2 separate regions of the Homo sapiens genome follow, and region 2 is linked to region 1. The links are contacts of gene promoters, found by promoter capture Hi-C in blood cells and fetal thymus (Javierre and others, 2016). All regions are on one chromosome and are shown on one strand. Each heading gives the region's core, a stretch centred on a gene start or on the middle of the fragment in contact. The rest is flanking DNA. Distances are from core to core; before and after follow the strand shown. Region 1 holds the start of ST8SIA6 (ST8 alpha-N-acetyl-neuraminide alpha-2,8-sialyltransferase 6). Region 2 has its middle 60 kb from the start of VIM-AS1.

Region 1 (7,090 bases), core at 1,258-3,757:
ATTGGCTTGATAAAAAGTAACTTCATTTGCAGCAAGGGTGTTTAGGGAACCCAGTGCAAGGCTGACTCTTCTGCTGTTGCCTTGAGCCCAGCTGTGCTGAAATATTAAACTTTAGTAAATTAGGTGAAATTGCAGCTTCCTGGCTGATACAATAATGCCTTTTTCTTTTTCTGCAAACCATGTTCAGCATTAGTTTTCTGCACAATTTTCTGCACTGAGATAAAAATTGGAATATCTTTCAAATCCAGGCAACTCTTCATTTTCTAGATGATTGTGCCATATTCTACTTATTTAACAAACGGCTTAAACTTTGAAATATGTAGAACTAGATTTCTGTATTATTCTATCACTACCTGAGTATAGCATTACTTTATGTCATACTCAGATGAAGCAACTGAATCCCTACAAATATTAGTTTTATATAAAAGTAGAAGCCTGTTTTTATTCCTGATTAGTACATATATTAACAGCAGTGATGAGCTATAGAAGGAAATCACATTCCTAGTCACATTTATTTTTAGTTTTTTTGCTCCATTTTCTCTTTAAAAATAACACTAGTTCTTATGTGCTTTTATTCATTGACTAAACATTTATTGATCAATTATTATGTGCAAACTTCTGTTTTGTATTCAACAAGATGTTTTTAGAGTAAATCCGGAATTAGCAGAAAGAGACTAGGGACACTGGTATCTCTTGCCTTGATATATGTTTTCTTGTGATGGAATCTTTGGTGACAGCTTTATTTGGCTGTCTGGCCTGGTTGCTCCCAAATGGCTCTCACTTGGGCCTCTTTCAGGTGAAGACCATATGCTTCTAGGAGATGTCAGTTGAAATATCATATTTTTGTTGCTTGGGAAAGTTAACTCATGAAAGCCTTTTCAAAATTGAAGTCATTTCAAAAGATCTTATCAAGGTACTCCCAAGATGGTGGAATCCAAGGGTTGCATTTGGAAAAATCTCGAAACTATACAAAAGTAAGAGTGAATAATTTTATAAGCCTGCATATAACCACAATGGAATTAAAACCTAGGGAAGTGGCTAAGTGGGGGCTTGGGCAGTCAGGATAGTTTAGGGCATAGAGAGTTGAGACCCACTTTTAAAAAAATAGAGAGCCAGTCTGTTTCATAGTGTCATTGGATCACTCTCCTGCAACAGATGAGATACTCGTAAATGAGATACTAACCAATATGATCTAGACCGTGGTTTAGTTCTGGCTGCCATAAGAAGGATACCATAGGCTGGGTGACCGAAAGAACAGAAATTTATTTTTCACAGTTCTGGAGGGTAAGAAACCCAAGATCAGTGTGCCAGCATGGTCAGGTTCTGGTGAGGGTCCTCTTCCTGCTTGGCAGAAAGCTGCCCTCGTGCTGTGTCTTTACACTGCACAGAGCAGAGAGAGAGGAGGCAAATTCCCCGCTGCCTGCTCTTATGAGGGAACTAATTCCACCAGGAAGCCTCCACCCCATGAACTAATCAGGTATGAAAGGCCCCACCTCCAGATACCACCACATTAGATTGGGGATTTGGGTTTCAACATATGAATTTTGTAGAGACACAAACATTCAGCCCATAGCAGTGTTAAAAGAAAAACATCAGACAAATTAAATTTAGCACAGTTTATTCGAGCAAAGGGTTCATGAATTGGGCAGCACTCACAACCAGAGGAGGTCCAGTGAGGTCCACCCCATGGTGTGAGCAGCAAAGCCTGATAGGCCAAACTCAGAAGCACAGTGGAGAAACTGATTGGCTATAGCTATGCAGGCTGCCTTGTGGGGCCTGGTATAATGAGTTGGTTGCCCATGATTGGCCAGTAGCCCCCTGTTCATTACAGCCTAATGTAGGTTTCCATTGTTAGGTGGGAACTCAACGTACAGAGACAGCCTCAAGCTAATGGCCTCTTGCTTATTTAAGAGCAGTATGCAAACTTTTCCTGGAAAGTTTCAAATGGTAAATATTTTAGGCCCTGTGGGCTATGCCACCTCTGTCATCACTACTCAATTCTGCCCTTGCAGCCCTAGATCATACAGCCATATGCAGTCACTGATAATACAAAGCCATGGGCATGGAGGTTTTCCAATAAAACTATTTGCAAATACAGGCAGGGGCTAAACGGGTCTCCAGGTAGTAATGTGCTCATGCCTAAAGGTCTCCTAGCCCCTCATACCAGTTCGCTGTCCCTCTGAATCTGGGTTGAAGTAAGCACAGGTTACTGCTTCTGTTCAGTGTCATGATCCACCCAGCAATTCCCCAGTCCCCAGCTTTCTTCATGCGTGGGAGGATCCAGCCAAGCGACTGCACAGTTTTGAAAGTTTTTGAAGCGGCCCCTTTTTCTCCTCTCCTCTCTCCGCAGGCAGAGTTGTGGTGTGGCTGGGTGGTCTGCGTGGGCGTCCGGGGGATTCGCGGGCACTCGGGACGAGGCGAGGGCGCAGAAAACTTGGAGCCCAATCAGCACGGAGTTGAGCTTCCGCGCCCCAACCTTCAGGTGACCCCGCGCGGCGGCGGCGGCAGCAGCAGTGGCAGCGGCGACCGGAGCCCGCAGCAGCTCCGAGCGCCTCCGGGAGGACAGGCGGCGAGCTCGGCGAATCGTCATCTGCCAGCCGATCGCGGCGCTCCGCGGGCCGGGGCCGGGAGCCCGGGGCGAGCCCGAACGCGGCTTCTTCTCCGCCCGCCGCGGAGACTCTGCCGGGTGGGCTGCGGGCGCCCCTCGCTGCCGCCTGTGAACGCTGTGGGTGCGCGGGGCTGCGGCCACGGCGGCGGTGGCGGCGGCGGCGGGAGCCGCGAGTCGGGGCCGCCCGGGCTGTGCTTCGCCCCGGCAGCAGCGGTGGCGGCGGCGCCTGTGGCTCAGGATGCGGCCGGGGGGCGCACTGCTCGCCCTGCTCGCCAGCCTGCTGCTGCTGCTGCTGCTGCGCCTGCTCTGGTGCCCGGCAGACGCGCCCGGCCGCGCCAGGTAACCCACCCACCCGCCGGCCGCGCCCCGCGCCGCGCGCCCCGCCTGGCGCCCCCGGACCCCCAAGCCGCCCATCGCTTCCCCTCGGGCGCGGAGACTTTTGGCCGCGGCGGGGAGCAGCCCACGGGCGGCGACGGCCTGAGAGTGGAGTGGGGGAGGGGGTCGCAGGGAGGCGACCCTCCGACCGGTGGACGGCGGCTGGGGAGCAGAGGGACCGGTCAGGGCTGCGGGGGCTCTAGCGCGCATCGCTGTGGGCGAGGCAGCTGTGGAGCGGGACCTGCCGTCGGGTTCCGCATCAGGATCTCATGCTCCCCATTCTGGTCCTTGCTGTCTCTTCCTTCCCGCCCTAAGGCTCTTCCAACTCTGGGGCTGGGGACCTGGCCTGGGAGCCGGGGAGTGCGAGATCTCCCTGCCAGGCAAGGAGCGCGACTCCCAGCCTTTCAGCCAACAGCTCCCGGCGGGGTGTAGCAACTTAAGTTTTCTCCCCGGCTGTGCAGGATTCTGGTGGAGGAAAGCAGGGAGGCCACCCACGGCACCCCCGCAGCGCTGAGGACGCTCCGGAGCCCGGCGACCGCGGTACCGCGCGCCACTAACAGGTACAGCGGCGCCCAGCGCGGGCGGACTGGGGCTCGGGAGCTGCGAGCCGGGCATGGGGCGCGGCTGCACCGGCTTGGACTCGTTGGGAGTAGGCAGGCTGGGACGGCGCGAGTGAGTGTAAGAGTGTGCGTGTGTTTGAAGAGGGCGCGGGGTTGGGGGGGGGCACCCTTCACACTCCCTCAACCCTCTAAGCCTGGATGTGAATGGTCTTTGAATCAAGGGGGATCCTCCAGCAGCTGCATTTGAAAAACGGGTGCTGAGTTTTCCTCTCGACAATGGTGTGTTGAAAGCACCCCCGCCCCCGACCCCGCCACCTTTGGAGAGAAGCAGCTCAGCCTGTCTTTATGGAGGGATTTGGTTGGTTTGCTTTTTCTTTTCTATGCTTTAAAGGGCACCGGTGTTAAGATTCAGGTTTGTTTTGCGTGCTAGGAATGATTTTGTCCTTAGTGACTGGAGGCTTAAATTTTTTTTCTTATCATTCACATGTGTTTTTATTCATAGGCAGTAATTGTTTTTTTTTCAGATTGTAAAAGTAATACAGCTTTGTGCAGAAAGTTAGAAAATAGAACTGTATAAAAGAAAATGTTATTCATTCAGAGTCCTTACCTCTCAGAGACCATATTCAAGGTGGTTTTGGTCTATATTTCTTCCAGTAGTCTTTTCTATATACATATATTTCAAAAATATAACTTAGATTATACATTGCAGTTTATGTTCTGCCTTTTTTCTAAAAATCCTAGACCTATACCTGTCATTACATTCCCCTCCCCCCACAAAAACATTGCTTTGGATTGTTGCATAACTTATTATCTGAACATGCCATAATCTATTTAATAGTTTCCATTTTCAGACATTTAGGTTGCTTCTTGTTTCTGTTTTATTTTGTTTGCCATCAGTAATTCTATGAAATGCATCCTTGTATGTAAATCTTTATCTTCATTTCAAATTAATTACCCAAGATGGACAGACAGGAGTTGAGATTAGTAAGTCAAAGAGTATGTACTCTTTAGATTCTAAGTCACATTGTCAGTTGCTTCCTCGAAGGGCTGAATCAATTTACATTTTCACAAGCAGAATGTACTGCTTCCTGCCTTAGCATTGCTATTATGATTGCAATCTGCTATACGGTCTCTTTTCCTCTTTTTATCTCTTGCAAATCCCTTTTCTTCTGCGTATGCTTCTCTATATTCTTGGCTCTTGGATCCACCTTAATCTTCTGATGGTGTAACTCCAGGAAGCTCTAGCACGGCTCTAAGAAGGGTCTGGAAGTGGCTGGATAAACCCTGAATTGAGGAACACCACTGCCTGCCACCCCCTCATTGGAATTTCACAGCATATTAGAGGCACTAGGACCTCCTGGAGTAACAAAAGCTTTTGAGAAAAATAGTGTCCTATAGTTTTATTCTATTCAGGTTGGTGTACTATAGGTAGCCTAGCTTTCTTGATGAGCTGAGAAGCATTCCATCTTTTCCCGAGTCCTGTGGCTATTACACATTCGAGGGTTGACCCTTGGGGAAAGTTGGAAAGAATGTACTCATTAAATGGTTTGATCTCAGGTCGTTTTTAGAGGTAATCTTTGATGAATTTTTCACTTTCTTTTGACATACTTCTTTTCTACTTGGCATACTTCTTGGGCTAATATAGGTAACTCATAATTCTGAATATGGCCCATTTTATTAAGCTTTCTAAAATTTATACCATTCTGTGTTTGTAAAAGCCTCTTTATGTTTTGATTTATTTTATGTCCCCTTTATCATTTATGATTTTGGTTATTTATGGAGCAGGGGTGCAAGTTTTAATCCACCATACTACTTGGTTGTATAGAGAAATTGTAATTTCTTCATTTTTCTGGAGCTGGTCTGATCTTCCCACATGAGCCTCATGGTAATAATGCTGGTAGGAATAAGGAGAGCCAACAGTTAATGAACTCTTCTTATGGGCCAGACACTGATCTAAGCACTTGACATTTTTAATTTAAAAATTTTTCAAAATAGGTTTAGGGGGTAAAGTGCATTTTTGTTACATGGATATATTGCCTAGTGGTGAAGTCGGCATTTTAGTGCAACCGTCACCCAAATAGGGTGTACTCATTGTACCCAATGGATAATTTCTCAGCTCTCCCCTCACTCTCACTCTCCCACCTTTCTGTGTCTCCAGTGTTTATTATTCCACAATCTGTGTCTATATGTACACATTATTTAGCTCCTATTTATGAGAACATGTGGTATTTGACTTTCTGAGTTATTTCATGTAAGAGAATGGCCTCCAGTTCCCTTCCTGTTGCTGTAAAAGACATTAAATCCTTCTTTTTTTATGGCTGAGTTCTAGTATGTGGTACATATATGCCACATTTTCTTTATCCAGTCCTCTACTGAGGGACACTTAGGTTGATTCCATGACTTTGCTGTTGGGAATAAGCACTTTACATTTAATTCATTGAATCCTTAAGAAATACTAAGACAAACTATTGTTATTCTAATTTTTACAGAGGGGCAAATCGAAGCAACAAGATGAAGTAAATTGCCCACAGTCACAGAGTTAACACATTGTGGAGCCTGGAGTGAAACCCAGGCCAGGAGAATCCAGAATCCCACACGTTTAATCTCCCACTGTGTTGCCTGCCATAGGTGCTGGGAAAGATGGTGTGTGTGTGTGTCTGTGTGTGTGTGTGTGTTCAAATATTCAATCCAGGCAAAAGCTTAGAGGTGACAATTGAAGAGACTCTTTCTGGCAATATTTGTTCTTTCTGAGGAAAAATGCCCAGGCTCTCGGATTGCTCCTACCATCTCATCTCACTTTAAGATGCTATCCAAGTAGGCCGAGCACGGAGGCTCAAGCCTGTAATCCCAGCACTTTGGGAGGCAGAGGTGAGTGGATCACTTGAAGTCAGGAGTTCGAGACTAGCCTGACCAACATGATGAAACCTTGTCTCTACTAGAGGATACAAAAATTAGCTGGGTGTGAGTGTGTGCACCTGTAGTCCCAGCTACTCAGGAGGCTGAGAGGTGAGAATCGCTTGAACCAACGAAGGGGAGGTTGCAGTGAGCCAAGATCATGACACTGCACTCCAGCCTGGGTGGCAGGCCAAGGCTCTGTCTCAAAAGAAAAAAAGAAAAAGATGACATTCAGGTATATTAGGGAGGGGGCCTTAGGTGATGCAGCGGTCAAGAGTTGAAACTCATGATTATGGTATCTTTTCCTTCTAATCTACAGGGTGATGTTGATCCTTTTCCATCCGGTGTCCAGGCACTCTGTTGAGAGCCAACGATAAGATCTGCAGCTTGTGGCTCTTTCTTTTCCCTCAGGTGTTGCACCTGCTGTTGCTCCTGGCTAGTCTTGTCCTCACCTCAGATCCTACTGATGTTACCTTTCAGGGATCTAGCAAAGATTCTCTTCTGATCCTATCTTGGGTTGTCTCTCTGCGACATTTGCTATGATGCTACTCACTCAGCTGTTGCTAGCTAGCTCCACAGCCACCTCTCACCTATTTCTGGGCCTCATCTAAACATATAAAAACCAAAATTGGTTCAGAAAACTAAATATCAT
Region 2 (7,090 bases), core at 2,245-4,744, 160 kb after region 1:
CACATACATATTCACACACAAGTACACAACAACACACACACACATACATCTAAATTAGAGCTCTGTGACTCCTTGGCAGTGCCACTGGGAAACACAGATGACAGAAACTTTATATTTGGGTTTCTAGGAAAGCACGTTAGCATAAATTATAACAATGAGATTTTCTACCAATTTACGGTTTCCCTGTTATCTGCACTTACTTTAAAATCTCTCCAATAATGATCTTTACTGCAAGTATATTCACAGTTTACTTATAGGAAAAATGACATAACCATAGCTACCAGCCTGGTGCGGTGGCTCCCCCCTGTAAACCCAACACTCTGGGAGGCCGAGGCCAGCAGATTGCTTGAGCTCAGGAACTTAAGACCAGCCTGGGCAACATAGCAAGACCCCGTCTCTACCAAAAATACAAAAATTAACCAGACGTGGTGGTATGTGCCTGTAGTCCCAGCTACTTAGAAGGCTGAGGTGGGAGGATCGCTCGAGCCCAGAAAGTCGAGGCTGCAGCGAGCGTGATCTCACCGCCCCTGCACTCCAGCCTGGGTGACAGAGCAAGACCCTGTCTCTAAATAAATAAAAAAGTAGCTACTATTTATTGAATGTACTTGCTGGCATTTTACACATATCCTCTAACTTTCACAGTTGCCCTCATATTTAGGTACTATTAGCCTTGTAGTGGGTGTGAGTATTTTATTTTCTACTAATAGGAAATTCACTTTAAAATATCTTAAAAAAATAGGAAATTGACTAAAATATACTGCCTCAGTCAAGAGCAGTTTGGCCTCTTGTGTGACTTAAGCCAAGAAACGAAAGGCCATGGGATACCAAGACAGTCCCCTCTTCAGTCATGCTCCCTATGTCTGGAACCACATTGACCTTGATTTCCACATATGGCTTCTAGTTCTCTGCTGTCTGACTTTCTTGGCTTTTTCTCACACCTGCTACCCCACCATTCTCTGGTGCCAGTCACAAACAGAGATTCAGTGACAGCTATTTCATGTCAACTACAACTTCCCTGGAGAGGAAAGCTAATGGTTCGGTCTGGGTCACACATCACATCCACTCCAGATAATAGTCATGCAGTAACAAACATGGCTGCTAAATGAGTCACAATAGCCAACATATGGAAACAACCGAAGTGGTGAATGGATGAATGGATACAATGTGAAATATACATACACACACAATGGAATATTATGCAGGCTTAAAAAAGAAGGAAATCCTGCCATTTGCAACAACTTGAATAAACTTGGAGGACATTATGTTAAGTGAAACAAGACAGACACAGAAAGACAAACATTGCATGAATCTCATTTATCGTGGAAACTAAAAGAGTCAAACTCACAGAAGCAGAGGGTAGAGTGATGGTTGCCAGGGGCTGGGAGTAGAAGGAGAGGTGGGGGAACGGGGACATGTCAATCAAATGGTACAAACTTTCAGTTATAGATGAGATAAATAAGTTCTGGAGACGTGATGTACAGCATGGTGACTACACTTAATAATTACATATTGTACACTTGAAATTTGCTGAGAGGAGATCTTAAGTGTTCTCAACACATACACACACATACACGCACACAGAAATAATAACTGTGAGGCAATGGATACGTTAATTCAGCCCTCATAGAAACACACAGCATATTTTAATATATTAACATATATTAACTGGCTTGATTGTGGCAATCAATTCACAAAATAAACTTATGCAAAACATCATATTGTACTCTTTAAGTATTTGCAATTTTTTTGAAGAAAGGGTCTTGCTCTGTTGCCCAGGCTGGAGTACAGTGGTGCTATCATGGCTCACTGCAGCCTCCACTTCTCCAGGCTCAAGTGATCCTCCTACCTCAGCCTCACAAGTAGTTGGGACTACAGTTGATGCCACCACACCTGGCTAATTTTTTGTATTTTTTTTTTCAATAGAGACAGCATTTCACTATACTGCCTAGGCTGGTCTTGAACTTCTGGGCTCAAGCAATCTGCCCACCTTGGCCTCTCATAGTGCTAGGATTATAGGCATGAGCCACTGCACCTGGTCACAATTTTTATTTGTCAATCAACAAAGTTTTATTTGTCTCATTAAAGCTGGGGGAAAAAAACTCACGTGGTTGCCAACACTCCAGTCTGAGCAGGAACATAGGAGGAGGGGACTTACTTAGAAGAAGGATACTATGAGGTCTAAGCAGACACCGTAAGGAGATATTCTACAACCACTATCTTAAAAATAAGAAAGCAGAGACATTGAGAAGGCGAATAATTTATCCAAAGCTGCTAAAAAGAGGAGAAGCCAGCAAGAATTCAACTCGGGTCTGTGTGACTCCTAAGCCCATATCGTTAAGCTTTGCTCTCAGCTTCCTGTAAAGCATTCACCGCAGTTCTTTGAATCACCATCTTCTCATTTTATTATCTGAATTCAGATACATACAACTCCTAAGTAAATGAATAATCCATGATCATCATAATCCTCAACTCCTTTAGAAATGTTAATAAATTTTCAGTTAACCTGTCTTCTCCTTAAGGATTTATCCAACATGAATACACACTGGAGAAATAAGTAAGATTTTAAAAGCCTTACTATTAATTTATTTTCCCACTAAATCCAGTGGATTTCCCAGAAGTTGAATCTTCTGGGAAAAAATGTTTAACTCATTGATAGGCAGAAATGAGAGACCCATTGAGTAGATAATATGGTTCCTCCGGAGGTGACTTTTTTTTTTTCTTTGAGATAGGGTCTCACTCTGTTGCCTAGGCTGGAGTGCAGTGGTGCTATCTTGGCTCACTGCAACCTCCGCCTCTCCTGCCTCAGCCTCCCGCGTAGCTGGGATTACAGGCACTTACCACCACCCCCAGCTAATTTTTGTATTTGCAGTAGAGACAGGGTTTCACCATGTTGGCCAGGCTGGTCTCAAACTCCTGGCCTCAAGTGATCTGCCTGACTCAGCCTCACAAAGTGCTGGGATTACAGGTATGAGCCACCACACCCGGCTGACATTTTTAAAATCTTAAGGCCTGCTATTAGTTGTAGTTAGAGCCTTGTAATTCTTCTTCATAACTAAAATAATGGAACGCCCCTTGAACCAGCTGGTGTCTTAGTTATGACACTTCTGTTCTGCAAGAAGTGAAGGTGAATGGATGGCAAAATGTTTTCTGCTATCAGAAAATAAAGATTTTATGATTCTGAGAAAACAAAAAGTAGTAAGAGCAATTCCTGGTGAAAGATTCTGTGCAAAAATGGGTAAGCTTTTAATCTTACCGGAAGAGGAGTGATTCCGCTCTGTAGTGCTTGAACCTGTCTAAATGGAAAAAGGCTGTCACATAAAATCAGCATGAATTCATACACGCAATGGCTTTTTGATGTGGATTGACTATCCTGTAGGGCCCTCTAGGGACTGAACTGTAATCTCCAAAACTCGTTTCAATCAGACCCGAGAACCAGAGGTGAAACCACAGTGTTCAGGTGACCCACGTCTTCAGCTCAATCTTGCCTTCAAGAGATTTTCTGAAATATGTCATTTGACTTCATTCACTAGGTACAAAACTAATATTTGAGAGAGGAAGGAAAAGGGGCATCGTCATATTTTCTTAAAGGATTATTTATTTTAGCATAGAGTAGCTATCAGGGAACCGAAGTTTCATAATCACCACTATCTAATAACCTGCACTGTGGCTAAATCAGATTTGCTCTTCTCCTGAAATGAAGGATTAGCAGAATTGCAGGTGCTGAAATGGCAATTTAATAGAAGCTTCTATTTTCTACAATTTAACAGAGGTGAGAACGGTTGGCACGCATGGGACAGTGGAATGCATAATGCTGACAGCCCTGTAGAAATGCACCTGCTCTAATGGTTGATTCTTTCTCATTATACACAGAATGCTATTCACAAGCTATCAACTACAGAGAGTCAAAATATTAGATCGCAACCACAGGACACATTAAAAGTTAAACCGGCTGGGCGCGGTGGTTCACGCCTATAATCTCAGCACTTTGGGAGGCTGAGTCGCGCAGATCACGAAACGAGGTCAGGAGATCGATACCATCCTGGCTAACACGGTGAAACCCCGTCTCTACTAAAAATACAAAAAATTAGCCAGGAATGGTGGCGGGCGCCTGTAGTCCCAGCTACTCAGGAGGCTGAGGCATGAGAATGGCGTGAACCCGGGAGACGGAGCCTGCAGTGAGCCGAGATTGCGCCACTGCACTCCAGCCTGGGCAACAGAGCAAGACTGCGTCTCAAAAAAGAAAAAAAAAAAAAAAACAAGCTCTCCAGATTGCTAAATGGTGACTTGGGCTGATAGTTATTTTCAGCTTTTGATTTTCAAAGCTTTCTGAGGGTGCTTTGGGTTGCTCACAGGTCAATGTTCCTCTTCTTTTTGTTTTACAGGGAAATAAAATTCTCACCTCCTGGGTGTGGGGACAATTTTTCATCCTCAAAAAATTAGGTGGCAGGGAATAGTGGAGATCTTCCAGCTTGCTCAGGATTCAACTTGTAAAGCCTCCAGTATTCATAAATTTCAGCTCATGTGATCTTTATTGTAGACAATTTAAAAAATTCTAGCCTGGATCTCTTTTATGAAGTGGGTCTTCCGTGCTATAAATGATTTAGTGGGAACTCAAAAATATTTATTGGTTCATAATTTCATAAATGTGGTGCAAGTGACTGGGGAAAACGAAAAAGTAGTGCTTCTTTTAACATAAAATAACACTCGATAAAAAGTTAGTTCTTCTCTCCATTCTCAGGCTAGACATTAATCCCATGGTGTTCTTGGCATTCTGAAATACAGTAATCCAAAGGAAATATTTCTTTCTTTCCATGCACATATGTATGTTTGAATGAATGTAAGCTACCTTCTGTGTTTTCAACTGATTCTGAATTACTGGCAAAATAGCAATGGTAGTGCCACCAGAAGCCATTTGATCAGCATGAGTAATAGTGATACCAGGTTATAAAAAAGAATTATGACTTCTTCCCATTTATCTTTTTTCCATGAGGTCTTCAGGGTGGCAGCTCTTAACCAGTAGTTCAAAAGAGCAACGTTTACATTTTGATTTAAAAAGAAAAAATAGTAACTCTCCACCCAAACAATACTGACCCAATATTACAAAAAGAGATTGTTGAGAAGAGAGATTATTTAGACTTGACCTGGTATGCCTAGCAGCAGCCTCTTTTTTGCATATTAGTATTATACTAACTTGAATTTGGTTTATTCAAACTAGAACTGTTTATCAAATGACTTTTGTAGTCTGTGTCACCTGTACATACAGCTTGAATCCTTAAAAGGTGCAGGGTAAATGTATACAAATTTACCTATAAAAGGTGCATGGTAAATGTACACAAATTTACCTATAAAAGGTGCATGGTAAATGTGTACAAATTTACCTATAAAAGGTGCATGATAAATGTATACAATTAATGTCATACATGCATAGTAGCAGGTGGAGTGTTGCACAGAGTGGATGAGAAATGCGTTACGGAGTGAGTACCTGCCCCTGCAAATGATTGGTCTCACTTAGCTTCATGTCGCTGTCAAGGAAGGAAAAGCATTTAGGAAGCGAGTGAACACTTGAACTCCTGAGTAAACAAGAGAAGGCTGTCAGGATAGGAGACTGTTGTATTCAAAAGATGCTAAGGGCAATTAATTGCGGAAGCCGAGGAAACCCTCAATTTCACACCATGATGTATTCAAGAAATAATTATTACTGTGGAAGTCCATTTCTGACCATTCGTTTTGTGTTATGTGAACCCAAAAGTATCTGAGACATATCTCAATCAATTTAAAAAGTTTATTCTGCCAAGGTTAAGGACATGCCCGTGACACAGCCTCAAGAGGTCCTGAAAACATGTGCCCAAGGTGGTCAGTGAACAGCTTGGTTTTATACTTTTTTTTTTGAGACACAGTCTCGCTCTGTCGCCCAGGCTGGAGTGCAGTGGCACAATCTTGGCTCACTGTAACCTATGACTCCAGGGTTCATGCCATTGTCCTGCCTCAGCCTCTCAAGTATCTGGGACTACAGACACCCGCCACCACGCCCGGCTAATTTTTTGTATTTTTGGTAGAGACACAGGTTCACCGTGTTAGCCAGGATGGTCTCGATCTCCTGACCTCGTGATCCGCCCTCCTCAGTCTCCCAAAGTGTTGGGATTACAGGCGTGAAACCACCGCACCCGGCCGGTTTTATACATTTTATGGAGACATGAGACGTCAGTCAATATGTGTAAGATGAATACTGGTTCGCTCTGGAAAGGTCGGACAACTTGAAGCCAGGAAGCGGGCTGCCGTGTCATAAGTAGTTAACAGAAAATCGGTTGCATTCTTTTGAGTCTCTGATTAGCCTTTCACTGAATACACAATCTACCTGTGAGATGACAGTAGAGGAATAGTCACTCAAGCCTTAGTGTGGCTCAGTGAAACAAAAGGGCAGAGAAAGCTATCAGATATGCATTTGCCTCACATGAGCAGAGGGATGACTTTGAGTTCTGTGTGTCCCTTGTCCACAAGGAATTTCCTTGTGGGCAAATTGTGAGGGAGGGAGGTATCTTGTTTATCTTTGTAGCTTTGTTATTTAGGAATCAAATGGGAGGCAGCTTTGCCTGATGCGGTTCCCTGCTTGACTTTTCCTTATGGCTTAGTAATTTTGGGATCCTGAGATACGAGTCTCTAGGTCCCTCCAAGTACGTCCTAGATTTGCAAACTTGCAAGAATAAATCAGACATGGATCCTATGCTCAAGAATGCCACACACTAGTTAGGGAAATAAAATATGTAAGAAGCAATTCTAATAAAGCCTGGAAGTGAGCCACAGCATGTGAGAAATAGAGGGGGATAGCTCAGCTGTGCTGTGCAGACTTTCCTGCGGATCCTCCGGGAGGAGACCTGCTGTGGGGAGTGGAGTTAGCTAAAGAGCTCCACTGGCCACACCTCCAGGACCCACTGCAGACTTCAGCCAGGGCCATACACTCTCTGGGTTGCTCCCAGTCAGTAAGGATGGGACACCTGAGCCAAACCATTCTGCTCCAGTGCAGCACTCTAACAATCTTTGCTCCAGGGCACTCCATCATCCTGGCCAGGCTTTCTCAGAGCTGCACTGGAAT

The links. The method cuts DNA at HindIII sites, captures the fragments that hold promoters and counts their contacts. A CHiCAGO score of 5 or more calls a contact.
Region 2: a fragment that was not itself captured here is called in contact with the fragment with the promoter of ST8SIA6 in region 1 in 2 of 17 cell types (erythroblasts and megakaryocytes); the score reaches 6.2 in erythroblasts.

The regions. Positions count from the first base shown.
Region 1 is chr10:17,450,012-17,457,101 of GRCh38, reverse strand. ST8SIA6 (ST8 alpha-N-acetyl-neuraminide alpha-2,8-sialyltransferase 6) reads left to right here and starts at 2,507. Exons shown (of 8, transcript NM_001004470.3): 1 at 2,507-2,947; 2 at 3,445-3,543. The coding sequence starts at 2,847. The HindIII fragment of the contact is 5,030 bases long and covers 1-4,917 here.
Region 2 is chr10:17,286,695-17,293,784 of GRCh38, reverse strand. No RefSeq gene overlaps it. Among named protein-coding and RNA genes, the nearest start is that of VIM-AS1, 60 kb to the right of the region's middle. The HindIII fragment of the contact is 503 bases long and covers 3,243-3,745 here.